2 separate regions of the Homo sapiens genome follow, and region 2 is linked to region 1. The links are contacts of gene promoters, found by promoter capture Hi-C in blood cells and fetal thymus (Javierre and others, 2016). All regions are on one chromosome and are shown on one strand. The core of a region is centred on a gene start or on the middle of the fragment in contact, and the rest is flanking DNA. Distances in the headings are between cores, read along the strand shown. Region 1 holds the start of PJA1 (praja ring finger ubiquitin ligase 1). Region 2 overlaps ARHGEF9 (Cdc42 guanine nucleotide exchange factor 9).

Evidence for each region. Contacts are between HindIII fragments. The CHiCAGO score rates a contact against its expected background, and 5 or more counts as called.
Region 2: a fragment that was not itself captured here is called in contact with the fragment with the promoter of PJA1 in region 1 in 1 of 17 cell types (total CD8 T cells); the score reaches 5.5 in total CD8 T cells.

The regions. Positions count from the first base shown.
Region 1 is chrX:69,163,100-69,167,710 of GRCh38, reverse strand. It overlaps PJA1 (praja ring finger ubiquitin ligase 1), which reads left to right and starts at 2,258. Exons shown (of 2, transcript NM_001032396.4): 1 at 2,258-2,339; 2 at 4,571-4,611. The HindIII fragment of the contact is 4,972 bases long and covers 1,854-4,611 here.
Region 2 is chrX:63,750,393-63,754,715 of GRCh38, reverse strand. The region is part of intron 1 of ARHGEF9 (Cdc42 guanine nucleotide exchange factor 9); the gene reads left to right. LOC128031833 reads left to right here and starts at 52. Exons shown (of 1, transcript NM_001414729.1): 1 at 52-231. The coding sequence starts at 52. The coding sequence ends at 231. The HindIII fragment of the contact is 1,252 bases long and covers 992-2,243 here.

The DNA of each region.
Region 1 (4,611 bases), core at 1,009-3,508:
TCTGTCTCAAAAAAACAAAAATACATATACATTCGGTATATTGTACTGTCCCATTTCCTCATATCGTTATTTATTTTGCAGTCTATTTGATTTATCTATACCATAAGAAATGAGGTGAAGTTTCCCACTATAATTGCAGACTTCCTGATCTCTCTTTATATTTCTAACAGTATTTGCTTTATATATTTTGAAACTACATTGTTTGGCACATAAATTTTTGTGACTATCATATGTTTTTTTTTAAAATGCACTGTTCTGCAACATGCTTTTTTCACTTAATATATTTATATTAGACCAGTACATATATACATATATACTTGCCTTCTTTCTTTCTTTCTTTTTTTTTTTTTTTTTTTTGAGACAGGGTCTGACTATTGCCCAGGCTGGATCACAGTGGCGCAATCTTGGCTCACTGCAGCCTCAACCTCCTGGGCTCAAGTGATTCTCCCACCTCAGCCTCCCAAGTAGCTGGGACTACAGGCACGTACCATTGCGCCAGGGAAATTTTTACGTTTTTTTTGTAGAGATGGGGTTTCACCATATTGTCCAGGCTGGTCTCAACTCCTGGGCTCAAGCAATCCTCCTGCCTTGGTCTCCCAAAGTGCTGCGATTACAGGTGTCAACCACCATGTCTGTACATGAGCCACCATGCAACATGTTTAAATAAATTTAAACAATTTATTTGTTGAGGAGAATTAAAGTTGTTTGCATTATCTTGCTACACTCCTATTCACATATCTTTCTCCATTTGTGTGTCTCAATAGAACACACAATAGAGCAATTGACTAGAAGTAGAATTGCTAGATGAAAATGTATCTCCATTAAAAAATTTGATAGTTTCAGATTTCTCACCAATGAAGTTCTATTATTGTTATTATTATCATCATCATTTTGAGATGGCATCTTGCTTGGTTGTCCAGGCTGGAGTGCAGTGGCGTGATCTTCACTCACTTCAGCCTCAACCTCCTGGGCTCACACAATCCTCCTGCTTCAGCCTCCTAAGTAGTTGGGACTACAGGCACACACCACCAGCTTGTCATATCTTTCTCAGTGAATAAAGCAACCTGTTTTGTTCTCTTTAGTTCTTTTTACTTTGAGTTCTCGATGTTTAGGATATTGATATTGTTACGAGTTTGTTTCCTCCTTCCTTTCCTTCCTTTTTTTTTTTTTTGCTTCTTTCCTTCCCTCATTCCCTCTCTCCCTTTTTTCTGCTAGTATTTTACTCTCATATATTTTTTATTCCTATTTCTGCTTTAGGTGAAACTCACATAAATAGAATATAACTTAGCTTTTAAAAACAAAATGCTCAAAATAAGAGTTTGGTTTTTATTAGGAGATGTTAACCCATAATGCATGCTGATATATTTGGATTCCTGCATTTTTGTTTTCTTTTTGCATCCTTTTTTTTGTACCCCCCCAGCAACATTTCTTGACCTTTGTTAAGAATGAGTTTTTCTCTTTGTTCCACATATTATTACTTTAATGGTTTGAAAGTTATACATTTTATTTCTATTATGTTGTTACCCCTAAGATTTTTGTTCTATTATGCATTTTGTTTCCAGTAAGAACAAAACTTTGCTACTGTTGTGAACATGGGAAATGTTTACATTGGCTGTAAATACTAGAGTTCCATTATAAAGCGCAATTTAAAGACTTCAGAATTCAGTAAAATGGTATAAATCCAAAAGGCGTAACTACAATATTTTTAACTGCAATGCAATAACAGAATATGAACCTGTGTTGTGTCCTATGATCTCTTGGACAGAGAAGCTTGGTTTTGTGATTAGCAGCAACAAATTCAACATAAACAGCTTCAATTTGCTTTAACCATCAGGTTAAAAAAAATTTAAGCTTACTGCAACCCTAAATATGGTTTCACAGTTTTAATACTTTCGGTACAACCATAACACGTAACATAGGATGTGATGTAGTAACGTAATTACTCTCACATTGGACTTAATCAGAAAGAATTTGCAGATTTTATTTTATTTATTAAAAAACCAGAAGGCAATATAGCTAAATGTTTAACATTAGTTAAAGCTGGGTGTTTGTGACATTTTTCGCTGTCCTTTTCTGTATCCTTGACGATTTCATCATTTAAGATGAAATAATGCTTTCGGGCCCACCCTGATTTGTGGAGAGCAGCTGCCGCCCCCGCCACATCAAGGAGGCGGGCTCCAGCTGACTTCACAATCACTTCCGCCGCCGCAGTCGCCGCCCGCCCCGCTGCTGTCTGGCGGGGGAGGAGCTCGGGACCGGGAGCAGCGGCTCTGGCGGTCGTGGCGGTCGGAGATCCGAGAGCTCTGCTTCTCTGAAAAGCGTGTGGCTTTCTGGACTTGGTGAGTGAAAGGCTGATTGTTTCCTCGATTCATCCGGGCGCTGGCGGTGGCGCGAGTGGCCGGGCGCGGGGCGAGTGGCCGGGCACGGGGGCGAGGATTTTGGGGGGTTCCTGGGAACTGCTTTTCAGGTTCGCCCCTCGGGAAGGGGTGGGGCGGACGCGGGACCTGACTGCAGAGTGAGGCCCATGTCCTCCATCGGCCTGTTCTGGGGCCACATCTTCCGCTGCCGGAACCCCTTTGGTGTGGCGCGGTCCCCACTCGAGTGGCTTTCATCGCTATTGGGAGGGCAGTGGTGGTCGCGGCCCTCTCCCACTTCTCCCTGCCTCTCCTCCCCTCTCCTTCCTTCTTCCCTCCTCGGCCCCTTTGCGGAGCACTCCGTGGCCTTTCTTCCCATATTTTGCTGTTGTTTTGCCAAATGGTAAATGGTTAAGATTTTTAGGTAAAAATACTGTTCCCAGGGAAAAAATTGGAAGGAAAAAATAATTATTCTCAGGGAAAACTAGACCCACGCACGCCCTTTTCTTTCATTTTCCCTCTCCCCTGCCACATCGGTTGGGGTCTCCCGTTTGAGCTGATGGCCTTTTCCCACCTCTTTTTATGACATTGCGTCCCCCCTACCCCCCACCCCCCGTGTGTCGCGAGCACGCGCCCCCGCACAGAAGCCTTCCATTGCAGCCCCCTCCTTGCCCCTCCATCCTCAAGGTTCCAGTGCTTCCCCTCCCCCGCGCATGCGCAGGCACACGCAGCACACACCCTCTCACACACCCTCACACCCTCACACCCTCCCATGCCTTCCCCCTCCTCTATCCGCCTACCACATACACACCTCTAGCACCGGCCCCCTCCCTGCTCGGCCTCTGCGTGCTCTCGCGAACACATGCCTATTCACACACCCCCTCCGGCTGCCCTCCTTCTTCCTTCCTGTCATATACACACATAAGGACATCCTTCTATCGCTGGCCAGTGACATACATATGTAGCCACATGTGCTCATTCATACCCCCTTCTCAAATGCTCTCCTCTATTGCTCTGTCTGCCACGTGTGTCAGACACAGCTCTCTTTTGCTGGTCCCTGAGGTGCACACACTCGCACTCACATAAATCCTTCTACGGGGACACAACCTGCCTCCCTGCTTGCCATATCCACACAGGCAGGCATCATTCTTTGATTGCCTGCCTCTGTTCCATCCACCTCAAGCACATCCCTCTCCAGTGCTGCGCACCCCCCACCCCCGCTTCCATTTGTGCCTGCTGCATTTGCTCACACTGACATTTCTCCATTGTTGCCTCCCATTTTGACTAACATACACACACACAAACTCTCAGACACTCCTCTCCATTGCCAACCATACACTCCTCTGCCTGTGACATACGCATAAACATGGGCATCCTTCTGTAGTTTCAGCTGCCTCACATACAGCTACACACACAAACACCTTCCCTTTCCTCATACATACACGCACCCCTCTCCTCCAAAGCCACCCCACCCATGCCTGTCATTTTCATACCCACATCCAGAATGGGTCTCATTCTAACACTCATACCCTTTCCCCCTACAAACGTAAACATCCCTCTGTTGCAGGATTACTGGTCCCCTTCCACCTGTCCCTCTCCTCTTGATAGACAGACACATAGGCACTCGTGCACACACGGCGATCTGTATTTTCCACTCTATTCCAATTTGCATTTCTCCTGTATGTCTGCAGCACTCAGAAAAATGCAGACACCCCATAAAAAAAACTATAGCAGTCTTTCCTTTCCCCACGTTGCACAATTCCACAGTACTTCACCCACCTTCCAAGCGTCCAGTCACCCCCCAACCTTCCGTCAGATTCTCCTCTAAGTCTGGCTTTCCTGCAAACCCAGTCTTGTAATCATTTTGCCAACATTAAAAATGTGTTCCAGGTCTACACCTGACAGTCACTGGAATGCTACTCCAGGCCTTAGAAGAAAGTGAAACTAATTTTAAAGGCCCCTTATTCTTTCTGTTACCTGCCTGCTGAAGTGAAAATAAATCTCCCTGCTCCTTTATTCTAAACTGATTTTACTTTCCCATCTCAAAAACGTGTGCAGGGAGCAGGAGCCCTCCTACCCGAGCCCCAGCTGTATTGGAAACCCTCCTAAGTCAGAGTGATGGGTCAGGAATCTAGCAAGCCTGTATGGCCCAATCCAACAGGAGGGTATCAGTCCAATACAGGTAGGAGGTATGGAAGAAGGCATGCTTATGTCAGTTTCAGGCCACCCACGAGCCAGCGGGAAAGGATTGCCAGCC
Region 2 (4,323 bases), core at 368-2,867, 5.4 Mb after region 1:
CCCTTCTCTAACCACCCTACTTCCTCCTCTCCTTTCTAGCATGGTGGCTGTATGGACAGTCTGACAGAACAGAGACTGACATCTCCCAATCTGCCGGCCCCCCACCTGGAACACTACAGTGTTCTGCATTGCACCATGACCCTGGATGTGCAAACTGTAGTCGTTTTTGCCGTGATTGTAGTCCTCCTGCTTGTCAATGTCATACTCATGTTTTTCCTGGGAACGCGCTGAATGGAGTCCAGCCACCTGAGCTGTCGCGAACTCTCGCTTTGATTTCATCCCGAGAGCCACCGAGAAAAAAAAAAAATCACAGACAGAGACAGGGAAAGAGAGAGAAAGAACAAGCTTTCTTACTCAGGGGGGAAAACGTTTTGAGCTTCAACATGGCCTCGCTGTGATATGTATGACGTTGGTATATTATCTCTCCCTAAATCTTTTGTCGTGTCTTGTCTTTTAAGAATGCCTGCGCGTATAGTTGCCTATTGCTTGAGTGAAATTGTTGATGAAGAAATGCTTTCTATTTAAGTGTGCATGCGTGTGTGCATTTTTAATCTATGTGGCGTTCATGGAGCAAGCTCTGCGTCCTTAAACAGTGGCTTTGCTGTCTGTGGTGTCTTAACTCATTTCCTTGAAGACTACCTTTAAACTCCATCAGGGAATTTTAGTCAAAATTTCTCTCTTGCCATCAGGAGTGCATTTGGGTTTGTTTGAGGGGAAAAGGGTTTGTGGAAGAGCATGATGAATATTTGACATCATAGGAAAGACAGTCTTTGCAGTGGATATTTAGAGGGAAAATAATCGATGCAAGGAATGGATTTAGGGAAAATGCTTCTTTAGTGTCTAAGGAGAAGCAAGAATTTGGGAAGTGACACGGGTGTGTTGTGCTGGCAGTTGGTGACTGTGTCCTTTGAATCTCAATTTGCTCTCCAGGGTTCACAATTTTCAATTTTGAAAGAAGCCACATTTAAAACACTTCTTGAACCTTAAAGCTTTAAGATATTTAAAATGTCAATTTCCTTGGAATCATGAAATAGTATGTGAAAGCATTCTCTGATTTTTTGAACTGGCAAGAGAGGACTTTGACAGGAGCTATTTGGGCTCCCTTTCCCAAAGATTGTACCCCTGGATTTGAGTTTGGGGATTTTGTTTGTCTCATCAAAAAAAAAAAAAAACCCCACAAGAAAGAAAAAACAGCTCTTTATCCACCTTGGGAATAATAGTATTTGGATATGGCTCCTTTGGGATAATCTCGTTTGCAATGATGTTCTTGAACTACATTTTAAATGTAACTTGATAAGGCTGATGAGAAAGTGGTGATGCTATTGTTTGCTCCCGTTTGTTACTTTAAGATCAGAGGTCTCTGTAATTGAAACATTCCCATAACAAACTGAAAGTCTGTAATGTGCTAAATTAAGAGTTATCAAATTTTGGTGCTAAATTTGACCACCAAAACCCAAAAACGTCTAGAAGGAAAGGGATGAGAGCATGGAAAACATGAGCTGGAAGCAACATTCCAGTTTGAGATATGACTGCTTGTCTGTATCAGATGGTGGTGGTGGTTTCTGTTGTTATTGCTATTGCTATTATTTTTATATTTCTGTTTCCTCTGAGAAAGCTCTTGGCAGAGCCAGGAAAAAAAATGTCTCATGCCAGTCTGTATAATACTTGTTTTTTTGCGTTTTGATTTTCTTTCTCCCCTGTTAATGTAGGCAGGCTTTCCCCATTCCATTGCTTACCTGGCTTGAAATAATGCCATTTATGGCTCATGTATTATAGCAGTGAATCAGGACACATACACATCTACACACATGCTCCCCCTCCACCCATGTGGGTGGCTGTTCATGTCTGATGTGCAAATCTGCTGGCATTATGCTGTCAAGTTCCATGTCCGGTTGTTCAGTCTCTTTGGAAATGATTATGAAAGGAGAGGGGCTGTGAAGGGGGCCTTTGAAATTGTCTTGGCCACAGGACCCAGAGAGTATTATTTAATGGCGTCAGAGGGTGTTTTGGGCCTCAAAGCATGCTATCCTTGACTTGGTGTGGGTGAGAAGCTGAGGTTTTTGTGAGATTAGTACCATGGTGTAAACATGATCTGGGAGGTTTGCTGGCATTGGTTCTTATTAATTACTCTTTGGTCCGTTTGTGGAGACCCCCTGGATGGAACTGAGAACCTATTTCTTTGCAAAGATAATTTAGTGAGTTTTTTTCCCCCCTTAGCTTCATTGTATTATTTAAAGTAAGCTTATATCTTTTCTGGGCACTTTGTTTTGATACAGTGTTGGAGAGTGGGGAATGGCTCTATGCTGGGCAGCTGCAGACCTGTTTTTTTGTTTTGTTTTGTTTTGTTTTTTGTTTTTTCCATTCAGCAGCTGTTTGACCTTGGACAATTTTTTTCCTCCTCGGTGGGTTTGGGATTCCCAGTAACATTGGCATTTTTTGATGGCTCCACTAGGTGACTTCCAAGTTCTTGCATTTTATGATTTTATGACCCCTAGACACTTGAAGTTGTGGGGGGTGGGGGGGATGAGCTGGAAAGACAAGTGAAAAGGAAAAGAAAATGTTAATCAAAGGGTGATGGGAGGAGGGGAAGGATATCTGGTACTACAGCCTGGATAACAAGTTTAAGCGAAGGGGTTTTTTTTGCCTAGTTATTTGGGAAGGAAACTGGGACAGCAATAAGGGAATGCTTTTTGACTTTTTTTCCCCCAAGGGGAGAAGGGGTCTCTGAGACTAGTCTTTGATCTAGGTTTATGACTTAAATAGTGTCACGAAATGCCTTCTCCTCTGTGAGCCTGACAGACCTTTGGCAGAAAGCCTCTGGGAATGTATGTGTGTGTGTAGGGTGTGTGGCAGTATGTTCATGGGGGTGTGTGGGGGGGAGCACACTCCTGAGTGTGGATGCGGGGTGTGGTGGTAGGAATGAAGAAAGACAGTATTGAGTTCCACAGTTCTGAATAGCCTCCTTGTGCTAGGACCTATAAGGATTTCACAAATGCTGGGATGGATGGGTATCACCCATGCCATTCCTCTTTTCACCACCTAAAACCCCTCAGGCTAAGGAGGTGTCTTGAATGAGCCCTTCCATTAGTAATTTAGCTGTTGAAATGGGTTAGCGCTTTTAAAATTGTCTCCAGGCAAATAAAGGGATGTTGCTAGCCAGATGGCAGGCCACCATCTAGCAACCAGAAGGGAATTTGAGAGTAGAGAACAAAAGGTAGCAGTGTGACTTTTTACTTGTGTGAATCCTAAAGGTTTGGCATTTCTGCTTCAGACTTGTGAGGATATTTTTCTCTAGCAAAAAGAGAAAAGAGTGGGAGAAAATGAGAAATGCAGCCCAGAGAAGCGGAACCCTATGCATTTTGACTTGTCTTCTTTTTTCCTTCCTCCTCTGCCTTCTCTCTTAATCTTTCTCCTTCTTCCTTTCTTCCCACCCCTGACACCACCTCCTCCTCCCACCTCCCCACTGTAAATGGGTGAGAAGTAAAAAAGAGAAGAGGACTTTTCCTCTCTGATTTGTCCCAACTTTTCCCAATAAAGCTCCTCCATTCCCTTCCCTCCTCTCTGGCCCCTTTGAGTAGAGGATAAGCTTTTGCCATGTAGGAGGGGCAAAATCCCAGCTTAGGGATTTTCGCTCCTGGATCCCCATCAAAGAATTAAAGAAAATGCCCTCTACTGGTATCCTAGCAACCCCTGTATCACTGAGCACCCACTGAGCTCCAGAGCCCACCCTTTAAAGGCCCAGGCACCAATAACTCTAGAAAAAGGGGACTAGAGCCTAGTGGGACTTGGAGAGATGCTTTTGGGGAGGGAACAAAGAAAGAACAGAATCCCAATTTCCTGCAAATGCCTCGGAAACATGTCCACAGCAGACATGTAGAGCCTAGCCTCGTCCAGCTATGAGATTATTTATTAGAAAACTCCTGGTTTCAAATTCCTTTCTAGTCAGTCCCATCTCCTTAAGATTAACTGTGCCATTTTACTGCCTAGCTTTAGTGCCAGAAGCTCTGCCGGTCCTGAAAAAACAATTTTTTTCACCCTAACTTTTGGCTGCATCAGGGAGGGGGTGAAGTGATATCTTGGTGGGAACAAACTGAACAGCATTCTTCTTCCATTGAGACAGCCTCCATCTGTCAGAACCTGCAGTGTGCTTGTGCAGTGTGCCCCAATTTTGTCTGTGGCTTGGGGAATCCTGATCAGCCTAGCTTTATAGAATTTGGGAATTTTTCTTTCTGTGGTTTTGGTGTAGTAGTTTCTGACGGGGGAGGCTGGACAAGTTGAAAGAGCAAGTTTGATAATGGAGCTGGTAAACAGGGCTTGGACCCT